2 separate regions of the Homo sapiens genome follow, and region 2 is linked to region 1. Evidence: promoter capture Hi-C in 16 types of primary human blood cells and fetal thymus (Javierre and others, 2016). All regions are on one chromosome and are shown on one strand. Each heading gives the region's core, a stretch centred on a gene start or on the middle of the fragment in contact. The rest is flanking DNA. Distances are from core to core; before and after follow the strand shown.

The links. Contacts are between HindIII fragments. The CHiCAGO score rates a contact against its expected background, and 5 or more counts as called.
Region 2: a contact is called between a fragment that was not itself captured here and the fragment with the promoter of CAMTA2 in region 1, in 1 of 17 cell types (total B cells). The highest score is 5.0, in total B cells.

The regions. Positions count from the first base shown.
Region 1 is chr17:4,986,184-4,989,251 of GRCh38, reverse strand. It overlaps CAMTA2 (calmodulin binding transcription activator 2), which reads left to right and starts at 1,577. Exons shown (of 23, transcript NM_015099.4): 1 at 1,577-1,659; 2 at 2,966-3,060. The coding sequence starts at 3,030. INCA1 (inhibitor of CDK, cyclin A1 interacting protein 1) reads left to right here. Exons shown (of 7, transcript NM_001394789.1): 6 at 308-473; 7 at 698-1,122. The coding sequence ends at 847. It overlaps CAMTA2-AS1 (CAMTA2 antisense RNA 1), which reads right to left and starts at 1,508. Exons shown (of 3, transcript NR_187235.1): 1 at 1,027-1,508; 2 at 660-836; 3 at 1-565. RefSeq lists a silencer at 1,558-2,097. The HindIII fragment of the contact is 15,391 bases long and covers 628-3,068 here.
Region 2 is chr17:5,358,811-5,361,933 of GRCh38, reverse strand. RABEP1 (rabaptin, RAB GTPase binding effector protein 1) reads right to left here. Exons shown (of 18, transcript NM_004703.6): 9 at 259-726. LOC105371505 (a long non-coding RNA gene) reads left to right here. Exons shown (of 2, transcript XR_934178.3): 1 at 1-249; 2 at 850-1,327. Among named protein-coding and RNA genes, the nearest start is that of NUP88, 59 kb to the left of the region's middle. RefSeq lists an enhancer at 1-52. The HindIII fragment of the contact is 1,820 bases long and covers 563-2,382 here.

The DNA of each region.
Region 1 (3,068 bases), core at 328-2,827:
AAAGAAGGAGGGAACTGCAGTAAGGAGGATGAGCCACATGAGCTGGAAGGAGTGGAAACTAGATCACTGAAGACAGGAAAGCAAACCATAGAACTGGAGGACAGTGGGGAGGTTGGGGTCACCTCTGGGTTCCTAGACAATATGCTTCAGTCTGAGGGGAGCAGAAAATTGGGAGTGGAGGGTTAAAGGTCAAATGACAACTCCCTGGAGTCCCAGCAGGAAGTATTTCAGAACAGAAAGGTGAAGAATGGAGAGACAGGAAGCCTGGCCTCCAGGCACTTCTCTCCTCAGCCTAAAGTCTCCACAGACTGAAGAAGGCCCAGTGGGGCAGCTCTGGGGCTGCATCTGAGCCAGTGGTGCTTGGCGAAGAGGGCTGTGGATTCCCCAGCACCAATGAATACCCTGATCTGGAAGAGGAGAGAGCAACCTATCCACAGGAAGAGGACCGTTTTCTCACTCCTGGCAGGGCCCAGGTATTGTTGGAGTGGAACTGGGTGGAGTGAGGGAGTGATGTGGGTCTCTGGTCTTGCATGGAGATGCAGAAGCTGAGAGCCAGGCTGGAGAGCTGGATTTGAGAGAAACAAAAATAACGTAGGTGAGAACCAGAGACTTCGAGGTACCTAAGCTTGGGTACTAGGAAATCTGGAAAGAAGACCTACTTTTCCATTTTCTTTTTCAATTTCTCTCATCTTGACAGCTGCTTTGGTCTCCCTGGAGCCCCCTGGATCAGGAGGAGGCTTGTGCCTCCAGGCAGCTGCACTCTCTGGCCTCGTTCAGCACTGTCACAGCCAGAAGGAACCCCCTTCACAATCCCTGGGGGATGGAGTTGGCAGCGTCTGAAGAGTAAGGAGAAACCACCGATGCCGAGAGGCTAGTGGTGCCCCAGGGACCCAAGACTAGTTCCGTCACTAGAGTCACCCTCATTGCTGACATGAAGGCGTTTCCCCTTCCTTCGTCTCTCCAACTGCCTTTCCCATCCTCTGAACTAGGCATTAACAGCCCCCGTGGGCTCCCATCTCAACCCACCGCTCTCACAGGAGCACCCCAAGTCCTGTTTTCCTCCAGGCCCCGCTCCTGGCCTTGTATTCTCTCTGCTCTGTTATTAAAAAGCAAGCAAGTGGAGCCCGAGTTGTCTTTCTTCTTGGGATGCAGCGATGGAGAGGCCAATGGGGAAGGAGGGCTCCTTTCGCTTTCTCGAGGACCCAGCTACAATGAAGTCGGGCTGGGTCCCCAGACAAGGAGTCTTGTCCGAGGCGAGAAGGGTCCTGCTCCCAGTCCAGCGTTCCTCGCCCGGCCCCTCGGGTTCCAGCACTGGTGGGCTGCCCCCGCCCCGTTCTCTCGAACTGGGAGTCAGTCGGCCGAGCTTCCGCCTCCAGGACCCTGGAATCCTGCCCCTCAGTGCTGCTGCCCTTTTGGGGACTTCCCAGCAGTCTGTCCCTCGGCCTGGCTCAGAGCCCTAGAAGCCGAGTCCCTCTGCCCAGCGCCCCACCCAGAACTCCACGTGTGCTGACCCCAGGTTCCCTTCCTGACCCTCATCCCCTTAATTGGGAGGCCCCGCCCCGTGCGCAGTGACGTTAGACGCCGCTGTCAGCCGGCGCTGGGGGGGGTCGGTGTGGGGTAGAATGGCCGCTGCCGCCGTCACCCGCGGGACCCCGGGAGGTAAGAGCCAGGGCCTCTCGCCCGCCTCTCCGCCCCCGCGCCAGAGGGCGCAGCTCCTCCAGGTCCCGACGCGGAGCGCCGCGCCAGGGACCACCGTCCCTCTTCCCGGTTCGCCCTCACCTCCCGCTTCCGTCCTCCTCCCCCGCGCCAGGGGGCGCCGCTCACCGCAGGGCCCCACGGCGGACCAGCGCGTGCCGGGGACTGTCCCGGAGACCCCCGCACCCGGCACCTGCACTGTCCCTCGCCCACCGCGTGCCCGCGGACTCTGCTCCCGGCTTCTCCAGAACATCCCTCTATGCGGGCGGGACCCTCCCACCTCGGAGGTTCTCCTGGGACCACCACTCCGCCGGGGGGCCGCCCAGAGTGCCAAGCGTCCGATCCGGCGCCGCCCAAGTGCAGCCCAAGGACCCGCTCCCGCTCCGCACCCTGGCAGGCTGCCTAGCCAGGACTGCGCACCTGCGCCCTGGGGCGGAGTCCTTACCCCAACCCCAGCTTCACTGCACATAGCCGAGCCCGACGGGCCTCCTCCCATCTCCATCCTGGACACCTGGCGGAGCCCGTGCTGAGAGCCTCCGCCAGCTCCCATCTGTTCCCCGAGGAGGGCGGGGGGCTCAGGCTGGAGCCAGAGCGGTAGATGGGGTAGGCTAGGCCTGGAGGCCAGGGGAGGCAGAGGCGTTTGGGGAGAGGGAGCTACGTAGAGAGGGCTGTCAGCCGGAGGGTGGGTTGTCCTGAGGGTGGGAATCTGGGTGTCTGGCCCAGATTCTATCAGGTCCTAACCAACCTGGAGGAGAGAATAGGTTAGGTTCAGTTATCAGATCTGCCCTTCCCCTTGGAAAAATCAAACAGAGAAGGAACTCAGGGCGTGTCTTCTAAAGGCCTAGCTTCTACCGGAGGTAGAATCTCCTGCCCTGCCCCCAGGATCCAGGCTCTCTTGCCAAACCATCCTCCAAGGACCGGATGGCCTGAGTCCCAACCCCCAGGACCTGACCCAACCATAGCCCCAGTCTGTGCAAAAGCTCAAGGTTTAGGGCCTCTGAGGCCCAAGCCCTGCCAGTCTTCTCCCCGCTCCCCCACCCCAACCCATTTCTTCCTGCTCACTCTTCCTGTCCAGTCTGCTCACTCATATTGGCTCCGGGCACTGTGTGTTGTTCTCTCTTCTACTGTCACATCACAGTCAGCCCCTCCCTCCCTTTCCTCATCCTTCCCAGATACTATGACCCAGTTCTATACCCACTCCCTACCTCATACTTCTCATCCTGGATTAATGTGGGGGCTTCTGCCATGACCTTGTTCTCTCCCTTCCCAGCACAGACTCCCCCTCCCCCCGGCCCCTCAGGCCGGGGGTGACCTTGCCCCCTGGAGCCCTCACCATGAATACCAAGGACACCACCGAGGTTGCTGGTAAGTTC
Region 2 (3,123 bases), core at 223-2,722, 370 kb before region 1:
AACCTGAGAGCTGTGAGTTCAGGTGGGGAGGTTCACATTCACTGTGATTAACTAGCTAGCTCCTTTCTCTGTCACAATTACCTGGAATACCCAAGGCAGACTATGACAAGGGTCAGGTGACACACGTTAATATCCACTTGCTGGCAACATGTGCCTGCACTGACTCCAGGAACCGTCTGTTGAATGAACGCTAAATCCCAGAGCTTCCCAGTGTGCCTCAGCGTGAGCAAGAGGAAAAACGTGAGAAAGGTAACTCACCTCTTTCTGCAAGAGATTCCATTCTGTTTCACTAACTAAACGATAACCACTAGGGGACACATAGGCACTCTCCATGCCCTGGGTAACGCTGGAGAGGAGGGACGCTGTCTCTTCTTGTTCTGGTGTCATCGCCTTGATTGCTCTTTCCTGATCTTTGGTTAACATAAACCCACTTGGCATCTGGAGTGACCCAAGGGATGCAGTATCAAAGTTCTCAGACACTGAATCTGCTCCTACCAGTGGTCCAAAATCTGACTCGTCCAGGTTTCCAGCAGATTTTGCTTTGTAGTTATAGCCTAAAGCTTTGGATTGCAATGAGCCCGAGGTTCCCAAGCTGTCTGTAGACTGTGCTCTCCTGAGTCCATCTTTAAACATGTCATTGTCCGATTTACTGAAAGGATCTCCAGATGGCAACAGCAAGCCTGCATCTAAGGAATGAACTGAGCCACGGGTGCTGTCTAAATGCTCCTGAAATGTGAAAATACATATGGCCAAGTTAGACAATTCTCTGCGTTTTTAAAGACAAAAACTATAATAAATGTATTCCGCCACTCATTACACATGATAATCATTAATGTGCTACCTTCACAGACTCATTGAACAAACACTAAGTGTCATTTCTACATGCTGGACACAAAACCAGGCCCTCAGGATACAACTGTGAGCAAGATATAATCCCTGACCTCGAGATACATACGGCTTCAAAAAAAAAAAAGATAAGTAAGCAGACTGTTATAATACTGTGATAAAAGGATGGGCTGGAGCTATGTGCTGAATGCTCTGGTAGCTCAAAGAGCTCCCAAATACGAACAGTTGAGGAACGTCACCTGCAATTCAGTGTGGCGTGTGTCAAGCGCGAGGTGCCTATCATGAATCCAAGCAGAGATATTCCCTTGACAGAGGGACACAGAAGTCTTTCGATAGAGACTTGAGAGTAACTATCGTATAATGATAATTAAAGTCACAGCAGCAAATCAGAACACGTAGGATGAGTGTGTAGGCAAAGAGGGCCAAGGGCAGAACCCTGAGAAAGATTAACATCTTGGGGATGAGCAAAGGAGAAGCCAGAGTAGTGGAAAGGAAATGACGAGAACGTAGTATTTTCTTTTTTTCTGAGACGGAGTCTCGCTCTGTCGCCCAGGCTGGAGTGCAGTGGCGCGATCTCCGCTCACTGCAAGCTCCGCCTCCCGGGCTCACGCCATTCTCCTGCCTCAGCCTCCCAAGTAGCTGGGACTACAGGTGCCCGCCACCTCGCCCGGCTAATGTTTTCTATTTTTAGTAGAGATGGGGTTTCACCATGTTGGCCAGGATGGTCTCGCTCTCCTGACCTCGTGATCCCCCGACCTCAGCCTCCCAAAGTGCTGGGATTACAGGCGTGAGCCACCGCACCCGGCCCAAGAATGTGGTATTTTCCAGCAAGGTGTAATCAACATGTTCAATGTTGTATACTATGCGAAAGCAGATGCAAAAAGTCACATATTATGTAATTCCATCTATTTAAAATGTCCAGAACAAGTAAATCCATAGAGCCATAAAGCAAGTTAGTGGTTACTAGAGGCTAGGGCAAAGGGAAAATGGCGAGTGACTCTAATGGGTTATGAGGTCTCCTTTGGGAGTGATAAAAATGTTTTCAAACTAAAAACATTTGTGTATATATGCAATGCCACTGAATTGTACACTTTAAATTTTATGTTACATGAATTTTATCTCAATTTTTAAACAACGTGGTACAGCACATTCCTGAAGGCAAAAAGCAAACCAGTGCCATTACATGAAGCAGTTGCATAGTTAGTGGGAAATAAGAAAAATGATTTAAAGAAAAATGTAACAAGTTTTCCTTCCAACTAAATTTATTCCATTTAAATGACAATGTTTTAAGATAATATCCTTTCTACGTTTTGTTGTTAAACGCCCTGTTTTAAATGAACCAGAGGAGACTGTGGAATACAGTTGTTGTTACTGGCAAGCTCATGTAACCTATTTTTTTTAATGTTTTAAAAATATTCTTGGTGTAATAAAAAGGTGACAAATTTTGAGTTAATGCCTCCATTTCTTTCCTTTTAAAGATTGTTACTCATCTGAAACTGCAATGGCTAAGAACACAAATCTCGTATATATTAAGCTTACTATGGCAAAGATCCCAAGTAAGTATCCTAATAAAAACTGGGATAAGCCATTCTGTTAGTTTACAAATAACCCTAACACCCACTGCTATGTATCATATACAGTGCTGCTGTGATACTGAAGAGGGAAGGGGCTAGGGATAGAACAGTTGTGAGGGCCATTTGAAAAACATCAGACTGGCTGGGCGCAGTGGCTCACACCCGTAATCCCAGCACTTTGGGAGGCCGAGGCGGGCAGATCACAAGGTCAGGAGATCAAGACCATTCTGGCTAGCATGGTGAAACCCCGTCTCTATTAAAAATTACAAAAAATTAGCCAGGCGTGGTGGCAGGTGCCTGTAGTCCCAGCTACTTGGGAGGCTGAGGAAGGAGAATGGCGTGAACCCGGGAGGCGGAGCTTGCAGTGAGCCGAGATCACACCACTGCACTCCAGCCTGGGCAACAGAGCGAGACTCCGTCTCAAAAAAAAAAAAAGAAAACATCAGACTACAGGCCTGGCGCAGTAGCTCACGCCTGTAAATCCAACACTTTGGGAGGCTGAGGTGGGAGGATAGGTTGAGCCCAGGAGTACAAGACCAGCCTGGGCAACATAGAGAGAACTCCTTTCTACAAAAAAATTTAAAAATTAGCCAGGCATGGTACCACACGCCTGTAGTCTCAGCTACTCAGGAGGCTGAGGCAGGAGGATTGCTTGAGCCCAGGAGATCGGGGCTGTAGTGAGCTGTGATGGTGCCACTGTACT